2 separate regions of the Homo sapiens genome follow, and region 1 is linked to region 2. The links are contacts of gene promoters, found by promoter capture Hi-C in human tissues and cell types (Jung and others, 2019). All regions are on one chromosome and are shown on one strand. The core of a region is centred on a gene start or on the middle of the fragment in contact, and the rest is flanking DNA. Distances in the headings are between cores, read along the strand shown. Region 1 overlaps EIF2B3 (eukaryotic translation initiation factor 2B subunit gamma). Region 2 holds the start of KIF2C (kinesin family member 2C).

The links. The method cuts DNA at HindIII sites, captures the fragments that hold promoters and counts their contacts. A contact is called where the count stands out against the background at its distance.
Region 1: a fragment that was not itself captured here is called in contact with the fragment with the promoter of KIF2C in region 2 in 1 of the 25 tissues and cell types used here (aorta).

Annotation. Positions count from the first base shown.
Region 1 is chr1:44,945,822-44,952,924 of GRCh38, reverse strand. All of the region lies in intron 3 of EIF2B3 (eukaryotic translation initiation factor 2B subunit gamma), which reads left to right. Among named protein-coding and RNA genes, the nearest start is that of EIF2B3, 37 kb to the left of the region's middle. The HindIII fragment of the contact is 3,505 bases long and covers 1,977-5,481 here.
Region 2 is chr1:44,737,463-44,744,526 of GRCh38, reverse strand. KIF2C (kinesin family member 2C) reads right to left here and starts at 4,690. Exons shown (of 21, transcript NM_006845.4): 1 at 4,525-4,690; 2 at 3,520-3,614. The coding sequence starts at 4,594. RefSeq lists an enhancer at 4,870-5,039. The HindIII fragment of the contact is 13,379 bases long and covers 1-7,064 here.

The sequences.
Region 1 (7,103 bases), core at 2,480-4,979, 210 kb before region 2:
TTTTTAGAGTAGATGAGAGGGACTGTGATCTGGTGCACGAGTGGATGGGTTTCCCTTAAATTGGAGAAAGGACGGCCAGGCGTGGTGGCTCATGCCTGTAATCCCAGCACTTTGGGAGGCCGAGGCGGGCGGATCACGAGGTAAGGAGATCGAGACCATCCTGGCTAACACAGTGAAACCCCGTCTCTACTAAAAATACAAAAAATTAGCCGGGCGTGGTGGCGGGCGCCTGTAGTCCCAGCTACTCGGGAGGCTGAGGCAGGAGAATGGCGTGAACCCGGGAGGCGGAGCTTGCAGTGAGCCGACATCACGCCACTGCACTCTAGCCTGGGTGACAGTGAGGCTCTGTCTCAAAAAAAAAAAAAAAATTGGAGAAAAGACATTTAATTTATTGTACAGGCAGAATGTATAATATGTAATGCATATAGATTAATTAATTTTGTGTCAGAAAGATGTTTGCTGCTTCTAATTGCTTGTATTTTCTTATTGAAATAAGATGTAAAGCCACCAGTTAAGAGTCAGTAGGGCCAGGCTCAGTGGCTTACGCTGGTAATCCCAGCACTTTGGGAGGCCGAGGCAGGTGGATCACCTGAGATCAGGAGTTCAAGACCAGCCTGGCCAAAATGGCGAAACCCCATCTCTACTAAAAATGCAAAAATTAGGGCCGGGCGCGGTGGCTCACGCCTGTAATCCCAGCACTTTGGGAGGCCGAGGCGGGCGGATCACGAGGTCAGGAGATCGAGACCATCCTGGCTAAAACGGTGAAACCCCGTCTCTACTAAAAATACAAAAAAATTAGCCGGGCGTAGTGGCGGGCGCCTGTAGTCCCAGCTACTTGGGAGGCTGAGGCAGGAGAATGGCGTGAACCCAGGAGGCGGAGCTTGCAGTGAGCCGAGTTCCCGCCACTGCACTCCAGCCTGGGCAACAGAGCGAGACTCCGTCTCAAAAAAAAAAAAAAAAAAAAAAAAAATTAGCCAGGCATGGTGGTGCGCCCCTGTAATCCCAGCTACTCGGGAGGCTGAGGTGGGAGAATTGCTTGAACCTGTGAAGCGGAGGCTGCAGTGAGCTGAGATTGAGCCACTGCACTCCAGCCTGGGTGACAGAGCGAGACCCCGTCTCAAAAAAAAAAAAAAGAGGAAGGGAGAAGCTGCTGAAGTTTTAAGGAAGGATGAGAATATATGAAATTATCTCTGAGAATGTAAAAGTTAATTGGCTAGGAAATGTATTGCTGGACAGTGTGAAGGATCCCCTTGAGATTTGGGTTATCAGTTTAAAAGGAGACTAGCCAATGCTGTTACCAGTTTTCTATCCATGTTTAGCTTCTTGGGTTCATATGCAAAGTAGGCAGAGAGTTAGGATATAACTAGCATCTTTACCTGGTGAGTACAAGGGATGAGAGTAGTAAGGAAGACAGTGATGTATATTAAGGAGTATTTATAGTGATGGACCACATAAGCTGTGTAAACGAGACCACCAAAGGAATTAGGGTGCTATAAATCAGTGTAACAAATGGATTGAGGATCCTGTTAGAATCAGAATTGCTGGAGCCAGAGTAAAAAGTCAGTGAGTTGGAAAAATAGAAGGTGGTGATCAGACAATAGGATGTAAGCTTTTTGAGGTCAGGGATTTTTGTTTGTTTGTTCATTGCTGTATCTCTATAATGCCTGGCCATATTCAGGGTTCAATATATGTGTGTCACATGAATTAATATGATATTTTAAAGTGAGATTTTGGAGTTGGTGCAATTTTTGGTAATGCCAAGGAGTAGAGTATAACAAAGTGGTTGAGTGACTAAGGCGAGAAGGAGAAAAAAAATAATTGAACGTGATGAGGTCATGGAGTCTCAGCCATAAGGATGTTAAAGTCACTGAAGTAATTTTTTTAAAAAACAGAGATAAGAAAATAGTCCTAATGTCTTTTTTAAAAAACTCATACTGGTCAGGTGCAGTGGCTTACGCCTGTAATCCCAACACTTCGGGAGGCCAAGGTGGGTGGATCACTTGAGGCTAGGAGTTTGAAACCAGCCTGGCCAACATGGCATAATCCTGTCTCTACTGAAAATACAAAAATCAGCCAGGTGTGGTGACACATGCCTGTAATCCTAGCTACTCTGGAAGCTGAGGCACAAGAATCGCTTGAACCCCAGAGGTGGAGGTTGCAGTGAGCCAAGATCGCACCATTGCACTCCAGTCTGGGCGATAGAGCAAGACTCTTGTCTCAAAAAATAAATAAATAAATAAACACCTTATACTTATTGAAGTTATATGTATATATCATTTAAATAATTCAATATCATTTAATAAATTAATAATTTAATAATTTAAATAATTCAATAGTTCAAGCTTTGTTCCTAAAAATATTAGTCCCCTGACCACCCCCACCCCATATCCCTAACCCGAAAGGTTCTCTTCTTTTAGCTACTTTGTTTTTTATCTGTATGTCTCTAAATAACATGCTAAAATTGTTACTTCTTGAATTTTCTGTTTTGTTTGTTTGTTTTTTAGAAACACGATCTCACTCTGTCACGGGTGCTGGAGTGCAATGGCACAATCATAGCTTACTGCAGCCTGAAACCTGGGCTCAAATGATCCTCCTGCCTCAACCTCTCAAGTAGCTGGGACTACAGGCATGCACCACCATGCCTGGCTAATTTTTAAAATTTTTTGTAGAGATAAGGTCTCGCTATGTTGCCCAGGCTGGTTTCAAACTCCTGGCCTCAAACAGTTCTCCCACCTTGGCCTCCCAAAATGCTGGGGTTACAGGCATGAGCCATTGTGCTCAGCCAACCCTAAGTTTTAAAAAGATTTATTAGTTGTATTTTTTCTCATTGTTATGAACTTCCCTTTAGAGTGAAAGTTTGATTTGGGAGAACAAAAAAAATCTCTTGTTTTTTTCTATTCCAAGTCAGTGCATTTAGAGATGAAAATTAAATTGCATATATCTAAATCCTAGAAGAGACGTGACAGGCATTTTTATAGGGAACTCATTTGAACATAATTAAAAATTAATATAGGTGCTTCTTTCCTAGCTTCACACAGTAAGGAAGAATATAATTCCTCTATTTGTTCTTAATCTGAAGAGGAAAATTTCCTTGGAGGACGTGAATGAATTATGAATATTAGAACCATAAATGTTGAGCCTTCATTTTAAGTTGTAAATCTAGCAAGCATATCATCATTCTTCAGCCGTGCCCTCCAGGACAGCTGCTTTTGACTTCTTTCCTTTCAGACATCTCTGCCTTTTGCTTCTTTGGTAGTAGCAGGTTCATTTCCTACCTTCTTGCATTAGGGAACTGCAAAGTTGTCTCTGTGGCCCCTGTCCTAACTCTGAACAGTCAGTCTCTACAAAGGGAGCATTCACCTCTGTCAGAATGTATACTGTTTCTAAACATTTAAAATCAGATGTTTTAATATTTGAGTCAAATTAAACAAAGAGAAGGAGATAACAGGAAAAGTACTAACATTTACTCATGCGTGTTTGCCAGCACTAGGTTGAACTCTGAATATACAAAGATAAAAGGGCTCCTTATGGAGCTCAAAGTCTAGATGGAAAAAATATATATGTAATCCAATTAGTGATTTAAGGTCTGTAATGGATCAGAAAATGCATCATCTCTAGGGGAGATAATATATCGGCTCTGCCCTTTCTAGTAACTGTGACAAGACCTGAATTTTGATGGATAAATATATAATAGAGTAGGAAGACAGACTAGGGTATACATTCTTGGCAGTCGACTCTATCAAATTAACACTGGCGGCCAGGTGCAGTGGCTCATGCCTGTAATCCCAGCACCTGAGGAAGCCAAGGCAGGAGGATCACTTGAGGTCAGGAGTTTGAGAACTAGCCTGGCCAACATGGCGAAACACTGTCTGTACTAAAAATGTAAAAATTAGCTGGGCATGGTGGCATGTACCTGTAATCCCAGCTACTTGGGAGGCTGAGGCACAAGAATTGCTTGAACCTCGGGGGGCGGAGGTTGCAGTGAGCCGTGATCGTGCCATTTTACTCCAGCCTGGGCAATAGCCTGGGCAATAGAGCGAGACTCTTTCTCAAAAAAAAAGAAAAGAAAAGAAAAGAAAAAGTTAACATTGGCTATGTGGAGGGGAGTTGGGGGAGAGAAGACTGAATTAGGTAGGTGGAGTCATATTTTGAAGACCCTTAAAATCATGCTAAGGAATTCCAACTTAATCTTGTTGAGCAGCAATCTCCAAAATAGGCTGTACTCAAAGCCAGGTGGTGTACAGAATTAAGTACCAGAGGAAAATGTTAGAATTTCTTGTTTTTAAATGTTTTATTTATTCCTTTTTAAATGTCTATCTTTATATATATTATATAAAGAGCATATCATATTATAGTGATCTATATATTTTTTTAAAAATTTTAAGGTAAGTGGCAATAAGTTCAACTTTTTTGATGTTTGGAAAACACTGTTTTAGGGTGTCTTTGAGCAGGGAAAAGACATATGCAGTAGAAATTAGAGTATGGATTAGAATAAGGGAAAACTGGAGCAAGAGAGACACCAGCCAAGAGACTGGAAGAAGATTTTGAGACCTGAACTAAGGCAGTGCAATAGGGGAAGAGTAGGGGACAGGGCAGGAGAGGAAGGACTTCCATCCTGGACTATGGGCGGATTTCTGGCATCAGATTCTGGATGGTAGCAACAGCATGATTAAACTAAGGAATATAGTAAGGATATTTAGCTGTGAGCCCAAGGATTATCACATTTCTTACTTACTGACTGAGTTGGTCATTTCCCTTCCTAGAGCTACTGCCCCAACCTCAGTGAAAACAATGTGGCAGTTGGCCCTTGGCCTTGCACTTTGAGGACTATAGACTGGAATCTTTTCCAAGCATTTTAAACCAAAACTGAGGTCTCCATTGCAGTTAGCCTTTGGTGTTTATTCAAGCACACAAACTATGCCAGGTGCAGTGGCTCATGCATGTAATCCCAGCATTTTGGGAGGCTGAGGCAGGAGGATTGCTTGAGTCCAGGAGTTTGAGACCAGCCTGGGCAATATAGGGAGACCCCTTGTCTAAAAAAAAAGAAAAGAAAAGAAAAAGCACACAAACTACTCTTGGGGATTTGACTGGGATTGGACCACATAGGAAAATGTAAAATGTGACCTTCATAGTCACACCAAGTAGCTGAATTCATGAGTTCCATATGGGCAGGGGTGGCATGCAGGCTGGTGATTTGGATCATAGCCATTATTTGTGGAAGCACTGGGTGAGTAGAGAAGCATGGTAGTTACCTTGCCCTGACAGTTTTTTTCCAAGGGAGTAAATGTGTTTTTCTTTCTCCTTGTCATAAGAAATCGGTTGCCAGATTGTGTTATTTATAACAATCTGTCATGGAACAGCTGCCAGGAAAAGAAAAGAGGCTATTCCCAGTAGCTCTCCTCACCTCCCGCCCCACCACTACAGCCACACACACACACATCCGGTTTTCTGATTTAACCTTTTTTCCCCTCTAATTTTACTCAGTGGTTTTGGCTTGATCGAAAATGTTCTTGTAATGAGAGATTTCTGGGCTTTGCCATGGCTTGGTAATTGGGTTTTCTGAGCTTAATTTGTTTACTTTAGTCAAGACTAACTGGCAGCAGTTTGGATTTTGAATTCCTGGGTGTTTTGGACACTTTAAACACTAAAGTGCTGCCTTCCCTTGAAACCTTGCATGTTTCTATATTGTCAAGAGTGCACACATCTGCTTTCCTTCTGAGTTGTGCTTTCTGCCCTTGACATTGCCCTGGCTTCTCTAGAGGAGCAGGCTTGGGATGAGGCATACCAATGACTGTTGGAATAGTGAGTAGGGAGATCTTTGGAGAGGCCAGTTGGTCTCTGCAGAAGAGGCATACTGTTGGCATTAGAAAAGAAGTGGGTCCATGAAACAAAGGCAGCTGAGTGTTGGCATGTTCAGGGAACTTTAAAATTAACTGCATTTCTGACACACAGTTGCTTCACAGTCCAAACAGTCCATGTTTATTCATGGCTTGTGGTCACACATGATCAAAAATACTTCTCTGGGTCTTATCAGTTTTTCTACTTTCTCTCTCTGGGCTCCAGTTACTAGAAAGCCATTTGCATTCCTAGAATGGGCTTTACATTTTAGAATAAAAATAAAAACAATGATCATTTCTTTCTGTTACAGCGTTTATAAAATCAGGCCAGGCTCAGTGGCTTATGCCTGTAATTCCAGCACTTTGGGAGGCTGAGACAGGAAGATCACTTGAGCCTAAGAGTTTGAGACCAGCCCTGGCAACATAGTGAGATCCCGTCTCTACAAAAAAAAAAAAAAAAGAAGAAGAAGAAGAAATTAAAATTAGTGGACATAGTGGCATGTGGTGCCTGTAGTCCCAGCTACTTAGGAAGCCGAGGTGGTAGGATGCTTGAGTCCAAGAATTTGAGGTTACAGTGAGCTATGATCACACCTCTGCACTCCAGCCTGGGCAACAGACTGAGACCCTGTCTCAAAAAAAAAAAGGTATTATGAAGGTATAAGTGTGATTTAGCTTTCCTTTCTTTCTTCTTCTGAGATTTCCAGCTTTGGAAATTGATCAGACAACAAACACTTTCCTTTGGAAGTGATGGAGTTGCACAGAGGATGAGATGTGTTTGGTCTCAGTGACTCTTACATGGTGCATTCTCTGGGAACAGAGGCAGGAGAGGGGCTGATGGAACAGCACCTCCGTCTGTATGCTAGGCCCTGTTCTTTCAGACCCACGCCTTTCTTTTCACACTAAGAACAGATGGCAACCAGACATTGAGTGGAGGGGTCTGTTCCTTGTGATCCTTGGGGATTTTGCATTCAGTTTAGCAAAAAGTCATCAAAACGCAAAGAGAGAAATGAGCCTACAGCCTGTTCACAATTATGCAGGACTTGTTTGGCATTCACTGTACTGACAGATTTAAACACTTTTGCAGATATCGAATGATAACAGCATTTATTTGCCAAGACAACATTGTTACCACTTCTGAGGCATCTGCATTGGAGTCATTTTCTTGATTTTGGAGTATACTTAATAGTTCAATTTATTGTAGATCAGTAAACTTGCAAAAAAACAGCCATCTTATTAGAGAAACTTAGAAAAATAGAAAGGGGATTT
Region 2 (7,064 bases), core at 3,441-5,940:
AAAGGCAGCAGGGAATTAGGCAGTCACAGAGCAGTAAACTGCCTCATTTGCCAGGGCATAGGATATGTGGAAGAAGAGTATGTGGTACAAAGAAAAAGGGTGATTAGAATCAGAGCTTGAGCCACATGTGGTGGCTCATGCCTGTAATCCCAGCACTTTAGGAGGCCAAGATGGCCAGATCACTTGAGGTCAGGAGTTTGAGACCAGCCTGGTCAACATGGGGAAACCCTGTCTCTACTAAAAATACAAAAATTAGCTGGGTGTGGTGGCAGGTGCCTGTAATCCCAGCTACTTGGGAGACTGAGTGAGGAGAATTGCTTGAACCTGGGGCATGGAGGTTGTAGTGAGCCGAAATCGGCTCACTGAGGGAGATCGTGCCACTGCACTCCAGCCTGGCGATAGAGTGAGACTTTGTCTCAAAAAACAAACAAACAAACAAAAAAAAAAACCAGAGCTTGAAAAGGCTCTGAATGCCCCACTAAGAAGTTCGGATCTTATTCCAAAAGCAGTATTTGATCTGAGGTAAAACAAGGGATATATTTCTAAACAAGCAACAAAAACAAATCACAAAAGACTGATAATAGCTGGTTGAAAGGAATTTTAGGAACCTCTTAATTCTTTAGGGGCAGATAATGGAAAGTATTCAATCCTTTTATTTCTCAAATATACCACCTAAATATCTCTACTATACGTACTATGCTAAGCAAGCTTTTTACATGTTTTATCTTTTTTATTTATTTGTTTTTGAGACAGGGTCTCACTCTGTCACCCAGGCTGGAGTGTAGTGGCTCACTGTAGCCCTGAACTCCTGGGCTCAAGCAATCCTCCTGCCTTAGCCTCTGGAGTAGCTGGGACCACAGGCGCAAGCCACTATGACTGGCTAATTGTTTTTTATTTTTAGTAGAGATGAGGTCTTGCTGTATTTGCCCAGGATGGACTCAAACTCCTGGCCTCAAGAGGTCCTCCTGCCTCAGCCTCCCAAAGTGCTGAGATTACAGGTACTGTGCCCAGCTACATGTATTATTTTATTAAGCTCCATGGAAGAGAGTCCAAGAGTCTGTCTCCTTCACCTCTGTATCCCTAGCACCCAATAAGTGTCTAGCATTTTGGAAGCAGTCCAAAAAATGTGCTGAGTAAATCCTCACAACAACCCTGTGAGGTAGACATTATTATCATCCTCACTTTATAGATGAGGAAACTAAACTTCGAAGAGGGGCAGAAACATGCCTGAGAACACAAAGCAGTGGCAGAGCCAGACTAGAATCCAGGTTTTCATACTCCTAGCCCAGTGACCTTTTCACTACACCACAATGCCACTAGAACAGAAATGTCTTAGTCACAGTGCTCTCCTCAAAATCCTTCCAAGGTTCCCCACTGCCTACAGAAGAAAACCTAACCAGCTCAGTGCCAGACATGAAGACCTTTGTCTCCTTTTTCAGCTGTTTTGCGGCTGCCAAGCATCCTGGGCCCTGCACTGCTCGTGGCCAGCTTCTTCATGGTCCCCATGTGTGCCATCTTGCTGCTTCAGCTAAGCCTTCACACTCCACCCTCTAAGCCCAGCCCATTCTCAGCAAGTTTCCACCTCTGAGCTGCTCTAGCAATGCTCATCTGTGCCATTCATCACAAGTTGTCTTCTGTTAGTTGGTTAGTTGGTGATTCAGAAACGTCTTTTTGTCTCCTCAACCAGGTTATTGATTTCATTCACCAAACTGATATCACAGGTAGTGTGCATGCAGAACCTAGCTTGGGCAAGCAAAGTTTTCTAAAACCTAAAATTCTGTGCAGTTTGTTTTTTTTTTTTTTTTTTTGAGACGAAGTTTCACTCTGTTGCCCAGGCTGGAGTGCAGTGGCATGATCTCAGCTCACTGCAACCTCTGCCTCCCAGGTTCATGTGATCCTCCTGCCCCAGCTTCCCAAGTAGCTGGGATTACAGGCCCGTGCCACCACACCCAGCTAATTTTTGTATTTTTAGTAGAGATGGGGGTTTCGCTATGTTGGCCAGGCTGGTCTCAAACTCCTGATCTCAAGTGATCCGCCCACCTCGGCCTCCCAAAGTGCTGGGATTACAGGCATGAGCCACTGCGCCTGGCTGCAGTTTGCTTTCTACAAACATACCAGAGCCGGGCATGGTGGCTCACGCCTGTAATCCCAGCACTTTGGGAGGCAGAGGCAGGCGGATCACGAGGTCAGGAGATCGAGACCATCCCGGCTAACACAGTGAAACCCCATCTCTACTAAAAATACAAAAAATTAGCCGGGCGTAGTGGCGGGCACCTGTAGTACCAGTTACTCGGGAGGCTGAGGCAGGAGAATGACGTGAACCCGGGAGGCGGAGCTTGCAGTGAGCTGAGATCTCGCCACTGCACTCCAGCCTGGGTGACAGAGTGAGACTCTGTCTCAAAACAAACAAACAAACAAACAAAAAAAACCCAGAAAATTATTGATTGCTTCAATTTAGAATGGACCTGACTAAATAAAATCCCAATGCATCTGGAAGGGGACCATTCTTTTTTTTTTTTTTTTTTTTTTTGAGACAAGTCCTCATTCTGTTGCCCAGGAGGCTGGAGAGCAGTGGTGCAATTTCAGCTCACTGAAACCTGTGCTTTCCCAGACTCCAGCAATTCTCCAGCCTCAGCCTCCAGAGCAGCTGGGACCACAGGCATGCACCACCATGCCCGGCTAATGTTTTTTGTATTTTTTGTAGAAATGAGGTTTTGTCATGTTGCCCAGCCTGGTCTTGAACTGCTGAGCTCAAAGCGATCTGCCCACCTCGGCCTCCCAAAGTGCTGGGATTATACATGTGAGCCACTGTGCCCAGCCAAGAAGACCATTTTTATTTTTTGAGGAAAGGTCTCACTCTGTCGCCCAGGCCAGAGTGCAGTGGCTCGATCATGGTTCAGTGCAGCCTCAACCTCCCAGGCTAAATCAATCCTCCCACCTCAGCTTCCCGAGTAGCTGGAACCACAGGCGTGAGCCACCACACCCTGATAATTTTTAATTTTTTTGTAGAGACAAGGTCTCAACATTTTTCCCAGGCTGGTCTCGAACTCCTGAGCTCAAGCAATCCTCCAGACCAGGCCTCTCAAAGTGTCGGGATTAGAGGCAAGAGCCACCGCACCCAGCCAATTTTTTTTTTTTTTTTTTTTTGAGACAGATTCTCACTGTCACCCAGGCTGGAGTGCAGCGGCACAGTTTCGGCTCACTGCAACCTCCGCCTCCCAGGTTCAAGCAGTTCTCCTGCCTCAGGCTCCCAAGTAGTTGGGATTACAGGCATGCACTACCACGACTGGCTAATTTTTGTATTTTCAGTAGAGACAGGTTTCGCCATGTTGGCCAGGATGGTCTCGAACTCCTGACATCAGGTGATCTGCCCGTCTCAGCCTCCCAAAGTTCTGGGATTACAGGCGTGAGTGAGAAGAGCACAGCATCAGAAACTAGGCTCTCACAGATTCCACTTCTGCACAGATCCTTTATGTAGGAAGACATTAAATGTGGTAGAGGAATTCTCATAGAACCTACCTCTTTGCCCTTTGTGGCACCTCCTTCTGCCCATTCCACTGAAACACAGGATTTCTCCAAGTTCACAGTCCTTACATTGGCACTGTGAATTAAACCTATAAAGTATGAAAAAACCAGAGTTACCCATCTCTTTCCTGAGAGCTTCACTTTTAGGATTCCACAGAGATTCCCAAAGTGGAGTTAACCTGAAGGAACAGGCAGCTACCTTAAAAAAAAAAAAAAAAAAAACTAAGAGAAACAAATAAATCTCCTGGGCTTCACCTTTAGAATATCCACAGTGAGGTGGGCTGGGGACAGGTTTTTAAACTGAGCTGCATGGGATAAGGATTCACCCCTACTCAAGAGAGCCTACAAAAAAAGAGAGATAGAGCCTACAAAAGAGAACATACAAAAGGTATGTTTGAGCACAGGATTCCCCACAACCCTTAGATGAACTTTTCCTCAACATAGCATTGAGGATCTGGCCCTTTTGGGGTTTTCCTAACTCATTTCTGGCGGTCATATCTGTCCATTTCCCTAATGACACGGGTATCAGACCTGCCAGAACTGCGGTACCTGCTTAAGCAAAAGAGAGAACGACTACAAGCTCCTCAAGCGCAGGGTTCTTGTCTGTCCCGTTTACCTGACATACCGCAACTGCGCAATATTTATTCGAGAGTAAAGGGGCCAGGAGACCGAGGTCCCCATAAGAGCAGGGCATTTTCAGGGGAGAATTTTGGAAGGGAAGTGAATTTAGAAGTCCCAACTTCCCTGGGAGGTCTACCAGCCTTGGAGAAGGTCCGCCCACTCCCAGAGGACTGCGAAAGGGACCACGTACAGCGCAGGGACTCTCACCCCTGTGTAGGCAAGAATGACTGCCAGTGCAGAGACCCGGAGTGAGTGCGTGTGAAAAGGAGGGAGGGAGAGAAAGAGAGTGAAAGCCCATCTGTGTGTCCGGGGACGGGCAGTAATTTCAGTCGTCTCACCGCTCACGAGTCCCCTTGACCTAGGGACCCCGCTCCTCACCATTACTGCGTTGGATCTTGATAGCGAGACCGGGAAACAGGCGGGCCTGAAGCGACGAGTCCATGGCCATTCGGAGAGTCAGCAAGGAAGAGAAACGCGCAATACCAAGAAACCTCAATTTCGCTAACCCTACGAAGTCTTAACGCCGCGTAAACCGCCGCAGTTTAAATCCCGCGCGCAAGCGTCCTTAAAACGTCATTCCGCTGTCCCCGCCCTCGCTTCCGCCAGTCAGCGGCGCCCTGCGGAGCCTTGGGGGAGACGCAGTTCCCAACCATCTTCCTACGCTTGGCACCGCCCATGCGTCTGGCCACACCCCCGAGCGCTGTGCCTTCTGGGAACTTCGCCGCTACGTGGGGTCTGGGGCTCCCATTTCTGGTATTGTCCTCGGTCACCTTGTACTGCGGGGTTCCCGAAAACTGGGAAACTTCAGTATGTATTTGACAATGAGGGCTCTGGGATCCTACAGACATGGGTTCGAATCGTAGCTTCTTCAATTGCAAGTTCAGTGACCTCGAGCAAGTTGGAGACTTGGCCGGGCGCGGTGGCTCACTCCTGTTAATCCCAACACTTAGGAAGGGAGAGGTGGGAGTGATCGCTCGAGATCAGAAGTTCGAGACCAGACAGGGCAACATAGCCAAGACCCTGTTCTCAAAGCAAAACAAAACCACAGATTAGAAACTTGACTTAGTTTTTCTTATTAAATAGTGCAGAAGCATGTTGCCTCATTCAAGGAGTTATGTATAAATTTCCAGAAAGACACTGATTCACCAGATATTTATTGAGTGAAGTCTACCACCTGCTAGGCATGGTACCAGGAAATGGAGATAATGAACTAGACACATAGTTCCTGTCCTCCTTTTTTTTTTTTTCCATTTAACCCTTAGTGGACACAGCACATGTTTCAGAGAGCACGGGGTTGGGGGTAAGGTTATAGATTAACAGCATCCCAAGGCAAAAGAATTTTTCTTAGTACAGAACAAAATGGAGTCTCCTATGTCTACTTCTTTCTACACAGACACAGTAACAATCTGATCTCTCTTTCTTTTCCCCACATTTCCCCCTTTTCTATTCGACAAAACCGCCATCGTCATCATGGCCCGTTCTCAATGAGCTATTGGGTACACCTCCCAGATGGGGTGGCGGCGGGGCAGAGGGGCTCCTCACTTCCCAAATGGGGCAGCCGGGCAGAGGCGCCCCCCCCCCCCACCTCCCAGACAGGGCGGCGGCTGGGAGGGGGCTGCCCCCCACCTCCCAGACGGGGCGGCTGGCCGGTCGGGGGCTTTCCCCCCACCTCCTGGACGGGGCGGCTGCCGGGAGGAGACGCTCCTCATCTCCCGGACGGGGCGGCTGCCGGGCAGAGTGGCTCCTCACTTCTCAGACGGGGCGGCCAGTCAGAGACGATCCTCACCTCCCAGACAGGGTGGCGGCGGGGCAGAGACACTCCTCAGTTCCCAGACGGGGTCGCGGCGGGGCAGAGGCGCTCCCCACATCCCAGACGATGGGCGGCCGGGAAGAGACGCTCCTCACTTCCTAGACCGGGTGGCGGCCGAGCAGAGGCTGCAATCTCGGCACTTTGGGAGGCCAAGGCAGGCGGCTGGGAGGTGGAGGTTGTAGCGAGCCGAGATCACGCCACCGCACTCCAGCCTGGGCAACATTGAGCACTGAGTGAGCGAGACTCCGTCTGCAATCCCGGCACCTCGGGAGGCCAGGGCTGGCAGATCACTCGCGGTCAGGAGCTGGAGACCAGCCCGGCCAGCACGGTGAAACCCCATCTCCACCAAAAAATACGAAAACCAGTCAGGTGCGGCGGCGCGCGCCTGCAATCCCAGGCACTCGGCAGGCTGAGGCAGGAGAATCAGGCAGGGAGGCTGCAGTGAGTCGAGATGGCGGCAGTACAGTTCAGCCTCGGCTTGGCATCAGAGGGAGACCGGGGAGAGGGGGAGGGGGAAAGGGAGAGGTTTTTTTTTTTTTTAATTAGAGACAGTGTCTTGCTATGTTGCCCAGGCTGGTCTTGAACTCCTGGGCTCAAAGATCCTCCCTCCTTAACCTCCCAAAGTGCTAGGATTACATGTGTGAACCACCAAGCCCGGCCTCCTGTTCTTGACGATCTGCCTGCCTCAGCCTCCCAAAATGCTGGTATTACAGGCATGAACCACTGTGCCTGGCCAGGAAAGGTCTTGTTTGAAGAACTGATGACTGGAAGGCAGTGGGGGAGAGGAGCATCAGAAGAAGTTGAAGAGGTGGGGAGGGGCAAAATCATAGAGCATCTTGTGGCCTGTAGTAATAATTTTGGCTTTTATGCTAATGAGAAGTCATTGAAAAGTTTTAAGCAGGGGACTAACATGATCTGATTTACATTTTACTTTTTTTTTTTTTTTTTTTTGAGACAGAATTTCACTCTTGTTGCCCAGGCTGGAGTGCAATGGTGCGATCTCGGCTCACCACAACCTCTGCCTCCCAGGTTCAAGCAATTCTCCTGCCTCAGCCTCCAAAGTAACTGGGATTACAGAGATGCACCATCATGCCCGGCTAATTTTGTA